Linked DNA regions of Homo sapiens: region 1 is linked to region 2. Evidence: promoter capture Hi-C in 16 types of primary human blood cells and fetal thymus (Javierre and others, 2016). All regions are on one chromosome and are shown on one strand. The core of a region is centred on a gene start or on the middle of the fragment in contact, and the rest is flanking DNA. Distances in the headings are between cores, read along the strand shown.

The links. Contacts are between HindIII fragments. The CHiCAGO score rates a contact against its expected background, and 5 or more counts as called.
Region 1: a fragment that was not itself captured here is called in contact with the fragment with the promoter of MTF1 in region 2 in 1 of 17 cell types (non-activated CD4 T cells); the score reaches 5.2 in non-activated CD4 T cells.

The regions. Positions count from the first base shown.
Region 1 is chr1:38,828,926-38,835,505 of GRCh38, reverse strand. No RefSeq gene overlaps it. Among named protein-coding and RNA genes, the nearest start is that of RRAGC, 28 kb to the left of the region's middle. The HindIII fragment of the contact is 3,409 bases long and covers 3,537-6,580 here.
Region 2 is chr1:37,855,077-37,860,871 of GRCh38, reverse strand. It overlaps MTF1 (metal regulatory transcription factor 1), which reads left to right and starts at 1,280. Exons shown (of 11, transcript NM_005955.3): 1 at 1,280-1,341; 2 at 3,163-3,621. The coding sequence starts at 3,214. It overlaps INPP5B (inositol polyphosphate-5-phosphatase B), which reads left to right. Exons shown (of 24, transcript NM_005540.3): 24 at 1-175. RefSeq lists a silencer at 1,014-1,343. The HindIII fragment of the contact is 3,574 bases long and covers 1-2,067 here.

The DNA of each region.
Region 1 (6,580 bases), core at 3,992-6,491, 970 kb before region 2:
GCTGCGAAGCACAGGCAGCTTGTCTACCTTTTCAGCCTGTTTGGTGATGGTGTCCAAGTCCTTAGTGTATGGCCTCTAGGTGGCAGTGTTGTATTATCTAAACACAGCTTCTTGCTTTCTGGCTTCTGCATGTGTGCTCTGTCCTGAAAGTTTGTATTGCCCGTATCACCTAAGTGCACACCTAACTTAGAGATCCAAAAAATTCCTGAAGTATTTTCCCTAGGATAACATTCAGGACTGATTTGAGACATCTTATTGGAAGTGGAGCAGTTGATGATTTCCACTTTTTAGTGAGGGGTTGGGTAAAACGAAGGTCATTAACATCATTTGCTTTATGTATTACTAGTTACAAAAGGGCCTTAAGACAGCTGTAGCCACATTCCTATAGCAGGCAGAACTTCTTGCTTCCTCTTCTAATCCATCTGTTGTAAATGTGTGTGGTCTTCAAGACTCCATGGAAAGAAATGCCACATATTTGAATTAAAATATCTGTTTTCACCACTTTTCTTTGTGTCAAATGAGGTTTGTTGAAATTATTTCACACTTATGCTTGAGAGATAAAATATGGCAAAGGAAAAGGCTGCAGAACCTTATCCTTCCATGGGTACTTATTTTTCCTTTTTTTTTTTTTTTTGAGACAAGGTCTTGCTCTGTCATACAGGCTGGAGTGCAGTGGCACGATCATAGCTCCCTGCGACCTCAACCTCCCAGGCTCAAGCGATCCTCCTGCCTCAGCCTCCCGAATAGCTGGGACTACAGGCATGCACCACCATGCCTGGCTAATTTTCTTTTTAATGTAGAGATGAGGGTCTCTCCATGTTGCCCAGGCTGGTCTCAGACTCCTGGGATCAGGCAATCCTCCACTGCCTCAGCTTCCCAAAGTGCTGGGATTACAGGTGTGAGTCATTGCTCCCAGCTTGTTTTTCTTTCTTCTAGAGCCATGTAATTGCTTCACAATCCCCAGCTGTGACTTTGCTCTGCAAAGACAAATTTTAGTGTAAAAAGAACTAGATACACCAGTGCATCTTCAGACCTGTTTAAAATATAATTGAGAAAATTGCAAAGGACTGTTATAATGAGGAACTGAATGGCAGGAAACTAGTTGTTCCTCCCCACACTTGAAAATGCCAGTTACTACCAACGTGTTGCCCGCAAAGTGCTGCAACTTCCACTTTAAGATTCTTACACTTTAAAATGCATCTTTTGAACTGATCAAATATATATATTTGTTATTGTGTGTTTTGTTTTGAGATGGAGTCTCACTCTGTTGCCCAGGCTGGAGTGCAGTGGCGTGATCTCGGCTCACTGCAACCTCCACCTCCTGGATTCAAGTAGTTCTCCTGCCTCAGCCTTCTGAGTAGCTGGGATTACAGGCGTGCACCACCAGGCCTGGCTAATGTTTTGTGCTTTTAGTAGAGATGGGGTTTCACCATGTTGGCCAGGCTGGTCTCGAACTCTTAACTTCAAGTGATCTGCTCGCCTCGGCCTCCCAGAGTGCTGGGATTACAGGCGTGAGCCACCACACCCAGCCTGGACTGATAAAATATTAGAAGGCATGTGGGAGACAATTAATTTGGTTTATTACAAAGTAACCTGCCGAACAGACAGGAACTTGACTTAGAGAAATGGAATATTAATTTTCTACAATATTCTTTTTGCTTTTCTTTAAAAAAGAGGTGCTGGCACACACATTTTAGCAAATTGTGAATATTCCTTCCTTTCTTTCCATGGCCTCTCTCTTATCTCCATGCAAATTGGCATGCAAACTTTGTGTTCCAGGTAATGAGGCTCCAGACAGGGCCTATCTTTCTCTGAAAAGCAGTGCTGGCATGTTCTGTACTGAGGCTTTTTCCCAGAAAATGTACTGCCTCTACAGCTTTGGAAGATGAACTGAGAAATAACGCTTATAACCCTACCAAACATTTCTCGAATATCTGTCTTGACTTTGGAAAGGGAGCTATTGGCCATTTCCATGCTTGGAGGATTCTTTTCTTCTACTGCACTGTAGTTCTTCCTGGCTAGATGTCTAGCACGGAGGCTCCTTGGACTAGTTCCTCACATGACCCCTGTGGCAGTCTATTGATGGGAACGGGACAATTGAGAAAGGCAGGCAGGCTGTCTGGCAAAAAGAAACTCATTAGGGTCAGGGGCCACAGGATCTCCATGGAGATGTTCTCTGGACTACTAGAGTGTTGAGGCTGGATGAAGGGGAAGAGGGCTGAGCTAGAGATCGAATTGGCATACTGAGTGGGAGCAGGGTGGGGTGGGAGGCAGAACTGGGCCTTAGGGAGGGCCTTGGTCAGTCAATGGAAGGAAGACAGCTGGAACAGAAGTTAGAATGATTCATGCAGTGAGAAGGAAACCAGGTAGAAAGGGAGGAATGCTCACCACTGAAATGTCTCTTATTTGTTGAAATGAAATTAAGGTCTCTAATTTGTTCTTATCCTTCAGGTTTCTGTGCCTGGAATCTGGAAAAGGAGACAGATTCTCCTAGATTTTGCCTAGGAATGTTAGTGACCTTGAGAGGCCTTCCAAATGGAGATCTGGGCCACACAGTGGAGATCTCGACCTGCCTCTGTAGGTCCTTGACTCTCCTCTTCCAATGTATCAAGTCCTTCATTTATTCTTGATTTCTTTCAGATCCAAAATAATGGTCAAAAAAGTGCTGTTTAGCTGGTATTATTTTCATGTTATCCCTTACCACAGTTTATCTCAATTCTCACAGGAGCCTCAATGCTTATCTCTTAGATCCTTTTCTTCTTTTAAAAAATTTGGGCTAGCCTATACTAATAATTGTACTAGTTTAATTAAAATTATGATTAGCAGTAGCATGCGTATCTTAATATTTGAGAGCTTACAGCTTGCCAGCCGTTGTGCTAAGAGCCTTACTTGTGCCTTCTCCTCTAATCCATCCAGTGTAATGAGGTTGGAGCTATTGTTGTGGTCCATTTTACAGATGAGAAAACTGAGGCACAGAGAACCTGCAGGAACATATTGCTAGTTTTATTGGCATAGCTTGGAATTGAAGTCCCATCTGTCTGATGCCAGAGCAAAGATCTGCCTTCCTGATAGTAACAGAGCTTCTTAGAGGCTGCCAGGAAGGAAGGAAGAAGGAACGAGGGAAAATGCTACATTGGGACTCCGAGCAGCTTATCCCGGGACTTTCTGAGAGCAGCTGTACACACCCGTTGTGGCAGAGGCAGAATAAGCTTTCTTCTCCTTTTGCATAGAGATAATATTTCCAGCCACTCTTGCAATTAGGGATGGCTATGTGAGTTCTACCAATGGAATGTGAGTGGAGGTGACATATTCCATTTCTAGGCGTAGCCCATGTAATCATCTCAGGCATGATCCTCCATGTTCTTTTCCCTTCTACTAGATCACTGCAGATGAGCACAGAAACACTGTTGAAAATGCAGAGCCTTGACACGGAAGGAATCTGGATTCCTGGATCACACAGTGGAAGGCTCATCTGCTGACCAGAAACACTTGCATTGGACTGATGAGCAGTACATAGATGTCTCTGCTGTTAAGCTTTTGAGATTATGGGCTTTATCTATTATAACAGCTAGTGTTACCCTAACTTACACACTAACATACTGTATGGGTCATGATTCTTGGCTATGAGCTCAGGCAGATAGTGGGTGAATGAACCAGAAAGATCCAGTTTTTGTGACCAGTTACAAAATGCCAGAAAGAAATAATGTTTCTTAGGCAAAAGAGATTATAGTGATTACTAGAATTTGAAGTCGGGTTTATTGGATACTCATCAGAGTGAACTTCTCATGCGAGGAGATCACCGAACTATCTTAGGAGTCCGTGGATGGGTTACAGAGGCTTTAGGAGCCCCTGAATTTGTGTGCAAAATTATATGTACCAACTGGACAGAGAGAACCTGGCCTTTTCAGTCTCCAAAAAGGTGAGGAACCAGTTGTGAATCTGAGCATAAGCCACTTAGGAGGCTTATTTAGAACAGAAATGCAAAATTGGACTTGGCTGCATGTTCTGGATTTCACATTTTTTTCCCTAGGATTTCCAATTCTGCCCCTTATATATGTAAAAACTATAAAAGGAGAGCTTTTCTTGAAACTGATACATTGGCATATGGTACAAGTGTCAATGAGCAAGTAAAATAGTCTGGGTGAGGGAAATCATGAATATAAAACGTAATTGTCTTGTGGTCAAGTAGAACATGAAGCCAATCATTTTGGGAGGAAAAATAAGCCTAGCTCATTAGTTCCCCCCTTCTGGCCTGCCAGCTTCCTCTTCTCTGTGTGTCCGAGGGTCACTGCCCTTCGTGTCCCCTGACGGGTCCCTTCTGTAACGAGGCTTCCTCGATTCGGCATCTCCCTTCTTGATGGCATTCCTCAGTGGAGGGGAGGAAGAGTTTCCTCAACCCACTGAGGGTTCCTGGCCAGGTCTAGTAAAACAGACAAAGACAGGTTAACAGGATCAGCACCATAAGACAAGGCAAGAAAAGAAAGAAAAAAAAGACAGGTTAACAGGAGAAAAGCATAATAGATTTATTTAAAGTTTTACATGACATGGGCCGGGCGTGGTGGCTCACGCCTGTAATCCCAACACTTTGGGAGGCTGAAGGGGGTAGATCACCTGAGGTCAGGAGTTCAAGACCAGCCTGCCAACGTGGTGAAACCCCATTTCTACTAAAAATACAAAAAAATTAGCCGGGCATGATGGCGGGCGCCTGTAATCCCAGCAACTCGGGAGGCTGAGGCAGGAGAATCGCTTGAAGCCAGGAGGCAGAGGTTGCAGTGAGCCAAGATTGCACCATTGCACTCAAGCCTGGGCAACAAGAACGAAACTTCATCTCAAAAAAAGAAAAAAGGAAAGAAAATGAAATAATGTTTTACATGACACGGGAGCCTTTAGAAACGAAAACCAGAGACACAGGGAAAACTGTCCATTTTTATGCTTCAATTAGATGAAGAACGGACAGCCGTGTAGAAATGGGATTGGACACAGAGGGTAAGACCTCGTGGTAACAGACTGAAGGGGGACACCCTGCAAGGTCTGTCCAGATTCTTCTTGGCCTTTCTATGCAACATTCCTTCCTCCAGGGTATAGGGCAGGACACCTCCTGGAATGAGGGTCTTAAGACCTACTATCAGACAAGGTAGGTCAGAGAATTTCCTTATGGTTAGCTCTTACACAGAAAGGTGGGAAAATGTTAGAGTAACATTATAGATTTTATGGCTGGCTTTGGGAGAGAGGGGTTCTAGTTGCTATGACCTACCTTGGGGAAGAGGGATTCTAGTTTTTTGTTTCTTGGCTTTTTTTTTTTTTTTTTAAGACAGAGACTCGCTCTGTCACCCAGGCTGGTGTGCAGTGGCGCGATCTCAGCTCATTGCAACCTCTGCCTCCCGTGCTCAAGGGAGCCTCCCACCTCAGCCTCCTGAGTAGCTGGAACTATAGGTAGTGCCACTACGCCCAGCTAATTTTCTTTTGTATTTTTAGTAGAGACAGGGTTTTCCCATGTTGCCCAGGCTGGTCTCAAACTCCTGGGATCAAAATGCTAGGATTATGGATGTGAGCTACCATGCCCAGCCAGAATTTCAGTTTTATGGCCTGCCTTTAGGTAAAAATGGGAGCAGGAGAAAGAAGAGCAGGAGAAGATCAGAAAGAGACTTCTGAGCCCCTTTCCTTCAGTTCAAAGTATTCAGCACGTCCAGGCATCACACTTTAGGGTACTGTGTTCTGAGCCCCAACATTTTGAAGATTCCTGGCCCACATTTTGGCCCATCTAATTTCTTTTTCAATTATCCTGTATATTTAATGAAATTCTGCAAGGGCAATCACTAGGCTGAAGGGCAGAGTCTGTGTATTTGCCAGTCCTCTTTTTTATGCAGTAGGGGTGCCTGGCACAGGGCTGGCTTCATAGTATACACTCAGTACAGGCTTCACTGTGCTGGGTAAGAATGGGAAAAATGTAAACAACATGACTGGGAGACACAACTTGTGATCCGTTTAAGGCTGCTCAGGGGCAGTGGTTGCTGGGCTTGCTGTGGGTGACAGTGAGGCTGGGGTCCAAGCCAGATGCTTATTCATTCATTCAACAAATCCTTAGTGAGTGCTTGCTGGATGCAAGGCTGTGTTCTAGGTTCCCAGGATCTATCAGTGAACAAGAGAGCAAAGTCCTTGCCATTATAGTGCTGACTGAATTTCAACCTGACAAAAGTTAGGATGCAGATGGGGGAGAACGGAGTCTCAGAGAAGTGAAGTGGCTTGCCCTAAATCACGCAGCTGGTAAGCCAATGAGTGCTGACCTTCTGACTCCAAGCCCTACACATATCAACACATCAAGAGAATAAGGAGGATAAACATTAGAGGTGATTTAACAACAAATTCTGGTGTGTGTGTGACTTTACACACCTAGAATGAACAGATTGTTTATGTCAAAACGTACTATTAAATTAAACAAGAGAAACTAGGAAATATGCTTATTATGTATAATAGAGAAAGTTAATTTTTTTTTTTTGAGATGGAGTTTCACTCTCATTGCCCAGGCTAGAGTGCAATGGCACGATCTCAGCTCACTGCAACCTCCACCTCCCGGGTTCAA
Region 2 (5,795 bases), core at 31-2,530:
GCCCGGGTGAGAGAGGGAGACCCCGTCTCTAAAAATAAAATGTAAAATCACTGAAAAAATGAGTGTTCGGTGAAACAAGTGGGATTTTCTGGGCCAGCAAGTCTTCCAAACTGTATATGATGCATCCTGTCTCCATGTGTAATATATTTTAATGATAAATGTATTTTTAACAGTGGCGGTTGTGTATGTTTTTATGTCTTAAGAGATGGCAGTTCGCTGCAGCTGGATTTTGTGGCTCAAGCCTTGGGGCCAAAGAGACATATTCCTGGCAGTCTGGTGGGTACCAGTCACTATTCACATACTTCCAGCAAGAAATGGTTATGGCACTGACCTGAACCCCTTGACCCCTGGTCTGGTCTTTGGAGTTGTCCCACTCTGAATATTCGAGAGAAGCAGCTTATGGTTAAAACAGGCAGTGGCAGCTGGGAGGATCTAACAGCTAGATCCTCCAGGCATTTGGAAAGGACAGGGGCATAACGAAGGCAGAATCGCTTCCTGGGTACGAATGCCCACTACTTCTGGGCACTGTGAAATGGGTTTAAGACGCGGGCCAGCAGGACAATGTGAACGGTGAAAGGAAGGGAGTGGCCGGTAGGTGGCGCTAACTGGCCCGGGCATGAGTCCCGCCGTAGCCGCGTCCTCTTGCAGGGGAAGAAAGTTGGGACCGCCAGCCTGGGCAAGCGCGTGAGAAGGGAGCTGGGGGTCCTAGGCAAGCGCGTGAGAAGGGGAAGAGGCGGCGGCGTCCTCTCCAGCTGGGCTTAGAATACTCTTAGTTCTGCCTTTGGGGTCTTGTCTTCCTTTCTGGGCCTCCTGCCTGTGTTAACTTTGATGGGTGCTGAAGGGAAGGCCGGGGTCCCGGCAGGAGAAACCCGGGAACGTCGCGGCCGTCCAGGCTCCCCTGGCGGGTTGGAGCCAGGGTTCTGACTGCCAACTGTGGTCCTTCCCGCTGCGGCTGTGGCTGCCAGGGCGAGGGCGGTCAGCGCAAACCTGGCTGAGGACATTTCGGATTCTTCCTTGGGGATTCGTTCCCTTCTCCTTGACTCCGGTGCCGCGAGGGCGACACCCTCCGGGCCCCGCGTGGCCACCCCGGGCGCTTCCCCACGCGGATGAACCCACCTCCTGGGCGCCTTCCCCTCGGTGCCCCGCTCGCCAATTGGAGGCTGCAGCTCAGCCCCCTGACAACCTGAGCCAACCAGAGGCGCCAGGGAGGGGCGGATCCTCTGTCCCCACCTTCCTCCGGAAAGAGGAAGCGGAAGTGACGTTAGGGGAAGGTGGGGGCAATCATGGTGCCGCTGGGGAGGGGAGAAGCTGCTGCTGCCGCCGTTGCCGGGAGCCGCGGAGGTAAAAGGCGAAACTAGACTCGGCCTGGGCTTGGGACTTACCGGGAGGCGCGGGACTTAGGCTCCCTCCTGAAGCATTTCCCAATAGAGACCTCAGTTTGGTCACCATAGGGACCCCACCCCTTCTCCGTTTCCATGGGGATGGGTATCCAGCCCCCCTTCCCTGTTTCCATGGAGACCCGGACCCTGCCCCTCTCCTCCTTGCTTGGAGACCCCCAGCTTGTCTTCGGATTTTTCTGTGTAGCCCTGTGCTGGGGGCTATCCCAGACAGGTTCCTTTTCCCAGCCTCCTCTCAAGGGGGCTCTGTTCGCACTCCTCGTTGGCTACCCTCAAACCTCCTGGTCTTGTTTGTTTCGGACAGTTGGTCTCCGCGTTGCCGCCGAGGGTGCCGGGGCAGCCCACTGGGGCCCTCGGTGCTCTTCTCTCTCTGCTCAGATGCAGCGAAATGTACATCTGTGGGGTTGCGTAAGCCAGAGCTAGGGGTCGGGCCGGTACCTCCCGGATCCAATCCTTTGGCCTGTCTCTGGTAACTGTCTAGCCATCCCACTAAGTAAAGGCTCACTTTCTAACCCAGAGCAGAAGAGAAAGATAAAGCGCAAAGCCAGACTGAAAACTAAAAGGGATGTGCTGATTATTTTAAAATTCTCTATTCTGCCTGCCAAACCCACATTTGTAGAGCCTGTGTTTGCAGATGAAGGAAGAATCACTATTCCAGAACATGAAAGCTTCAAATGTGGTATTTTTCTCAAGAGAATGTATCTTCCCAAGATAGTATATCTTCACGAGAGAGTAGGTAGCCATGTCTTTCAGTCATTTAGCTGACATTTCCTGAACTCTTATCATAGTATCAGTGTACTATGCTAGGAGCTGTAGAAACAAAAATAATAAGACTCAATTGATTCAGGGACGAGAGCCCACCACAGAACCATAACTTCTTGTTGACACCATATTGTTTTAGGACATAAATAGATACAGTGATCTTCGTTGTTTGTGCCTGATTGAGGAATAGCCCTTCCACCCAGAAGGTTGAAACATCTGTTCTAGGTAGGGGGGAAGGAATTCATACTTGTTCCTCTACTATTTACCAAACATTGTGCTTTACATATGTTGCCTCTTTTATTTCTTATAAAAACTTTGAGAGAACAGGAATTACTGGTCCCACCTTGCACGTAAGAAAAATGAGGCACAGAAAAGTTACCCATGTAGTAAAAGGCAAAGACAGGATTTGTAGGTAGATGACTCTGCCTCCAAAGCCTTGCTCCTTCTACCATAAACTGCATGAAACCATTTACTGCCTCGTGGTCTGATTTGGAGGATATTTGAATGGATGGAGTTTCCCTTAAGATTTGTAGCAACTCAGCCTTTCAGCAGCTGCTGTTCTGTTTGCTCTTTTGTCCCCTTTAAATATTTTGACCAAGTTTCAAATTGTTTGACAGGCGTATTCAGAAGGTCTTATGAACTTATTCAGTTTTTGAAAAGCATTGCTTTTCTTTCTTTTTCTTTTTTTTTTTTTTTTATTAGAGATGGGGGTCTCACTATGTTGACCAGGCTGATCTCAAACTCCTGGCCTCAAGCGATCCTCCCATCTTAGCCTCCCAAAGTGTTGGGATTACAGGTGTGAGCCACCACGCCCAGTCGGCATTGCTTTTCTTTAAAAATGACTTGATGGTTTTAAAGTTAAAATAAAAAAATTATTCCCAAGGATGGTTTTTCATTTGCTTTGGCTTGCTCTTTAAGTGAGAGGGAAAATGAGCCTTGTGGTTGCTGAGGAGGTCCGTCGGTCTTGTGGTATGACTCTAACTCTGGCTTTGTTCTGTTGCAGACAAGTCATTACGTTTTCATTTCTCACAACTGGGCTGAGCACAACTGAACCATGGGGGAACACAGTCCAGACAACAACATCATCTACTTTGAGGCAGAGGAAGATGAGCTGACCCCCGATGATAAAATGCTCAGGTTTGTGGATAAAAACGGACTGGTGCCTTCCTCATCTGGAACTGTTTATGATAGGACCACTGTTCTTATTGAGCAGGACCCTGGCACTTTGGAGGATGAAGATGACGACGGACAGTGCGGAGAACACTTGCCTTTTCTAGTAGGGGGTGAAGAGGGCTTTCACCTGATAGATCATGAAGCAATGTCCCAGGGTTATGTGCAGCACATTATCTCACCAGATCAGATTCATTTGACAATAAACCCTGGTTCCACACCCATGCCAAGAAATATTGAAGGTGCAACCCTCACTCTGCAGTCGGAATGTCCGGAAACAAAACGTAAAGAAGTAAGTAAAGCAGTCAGTGAGGGCCTAGTTTGGTTTTGGGGCAAGTCCTTACAAAATTCTTGGTGCAAATTTTAGCTGGGGAGTAAAGGAGTGCATGGGGTTAGGACTTAAGTAGTTTTGCTATCAACAACATATGCCTCAGGTTTTGTTGTGATTGCTTCTGGAACTTTTGGTTTGTATAGCCACATTGAAATTTGGGAATATCAAATTGTAATTTCTCGAATTTCCTTCCCCAAATCATAAATAAAACAGAAATTTCACTTAAGTAGACCCATGTTTCTGGTGCTAAAATAACTATTTAGCTTATCTACAGGGAAATAACTGGAGTTTGCTTATTTGATGAAGAAATAACTATATTTGGCTTATCTCCTGGTTGTGTTTAAATGATTTGTTTTAGAGATGAGTATCTGCTGGAATATGTTTTATTATCTTAGTGAATGTTTAATGAACTTTTATTTCACAGTGGCACACGCCTGTAATCCCAGCACTTTGGGAGGCTGAGGCGGGTGGATCATTTGAGGTCAGGAGTTCGAGAGCAGCCTGGCCAACATGGTGAAACCCTGTCTCTGCTAAAAATACAAAAATTAGCCAGGCTTGGTGGCACATGGCTGTAATCCCAGCTACTCAGGAGGCTGAGGCAGGAGAATCACTTGGACCCGGGAGGCAGAGGTTGCAGTGAGCCGAGATCATGCCACTGTACTCCAGCCTGGGCGATAGAGTGAGACTCCATCTAAAAAAAAAAAAAAAAAAAGAAAGAAATTCAGGCTGGGCACAGTGGCTCATGCCTGTAATCCTAACACTTTCTGTAATCCCAGCACTTTGGGAGGCCGAGGCAGGTGGATCACCTGAGGTTAAGAGCACCCTGGCCAACATGGTGAAACTCCATCTGTACTAAAAATAGAAAAATTAGCCAGGCATAGTGGCGGGTGCCTGTAATCCCAGCTATTTGGGAAGCTGAGGCAGGGGAATTACTTGAATCTGGGAGGTGGAGGTGGCAGGGAGCCAAGATCGTGCCACTGCACTCCAGGCTGGATGAGAGAGAGAGACTCAGTCTCAAAAAAAAAAAAAAAAAAAAAAAAAGGAAATTCAGGCAAGAGACAGTAAATGAGAGCAGGTTATCTAAAATAAGTTTTCATTTTCATGTTTAGCTAATGTGAGTAAGCTAATGCATGTCAGGATGTTTTGAAAACTGTAAAGCATTTTACAAATTATATTAGTGGTTATTATTAGCAGAATAAAAGTTCTGGTTTAAAGGTAGTGATATACATTATCTAGGAACTATTTTTTTTTTTGAGATGGAGTTTCACTCTTGTTGCCTAAGCTGGAGTGCAGTGGTGCGATCTTGGCTCACTGCAACCTCTGCCTCCTGGGTTCTAGCAATTCTCCTGCCTCAGCCTCCTGAGTAGCTGGGATTACAGGCACGCACCACCATGCCCAGCTAATTTTTTGAATTTTTAGTAGAAATGAGGTTTCACCATGTTAGCCAGGCTGGTCTCGAACTCTTGACCTCAGGTGATCCACCTGCCTTGGCCTTCCAAAGTGCTGGGATTACAGGCATGAACCACCATGCCCGGCCCATCCAGGAACTATTACAGGTCAATTAGAAAAAAATAAGTCACTAGTAGTTACAGTACCAAGGACTAAGATGTTACCAAACAGAAATAGGGTGAATGATTTAGCAAGGAATATCTTTTTTGCTGTGGTTGAGGTCTTAAAATTGCATATGGCTTATTGATGGCATATCACTTTTCCTTTGCTAGCCTTAGAGAGACCATCTTGTCCCACCTCCTACCCTATGCAGAAATCTCCCTATGGCATCCCTGACATCAGTTAATCTTGTTTCTGCTTGAAGACATCCAGAACAACAAGAGCAGAGTGTTTCATACCCCAACCCAATACATTTGTTAGCCAGCTCTGATTGTTAGAAAGCTTTTACTTGTATAGAACCAAAACCTGCCTTTCTGCAGGTGCTGCCCACTGGTTCTAGATCTGCCTTCCTGAGTAAACTTTCTCCCACAGAACAGTCCATCAGCTATTTGAAGATCATGGATTTTTCTTCCTCTTGTACAGGCTAACCACCTCCATTTACTTAAATGTCCCTCTGTGACATTTTCCCCAGTCTCTCATCAGCCTAGTCACCTTTGATTATATGAATTCCAGTTTTCCAAGGTCCT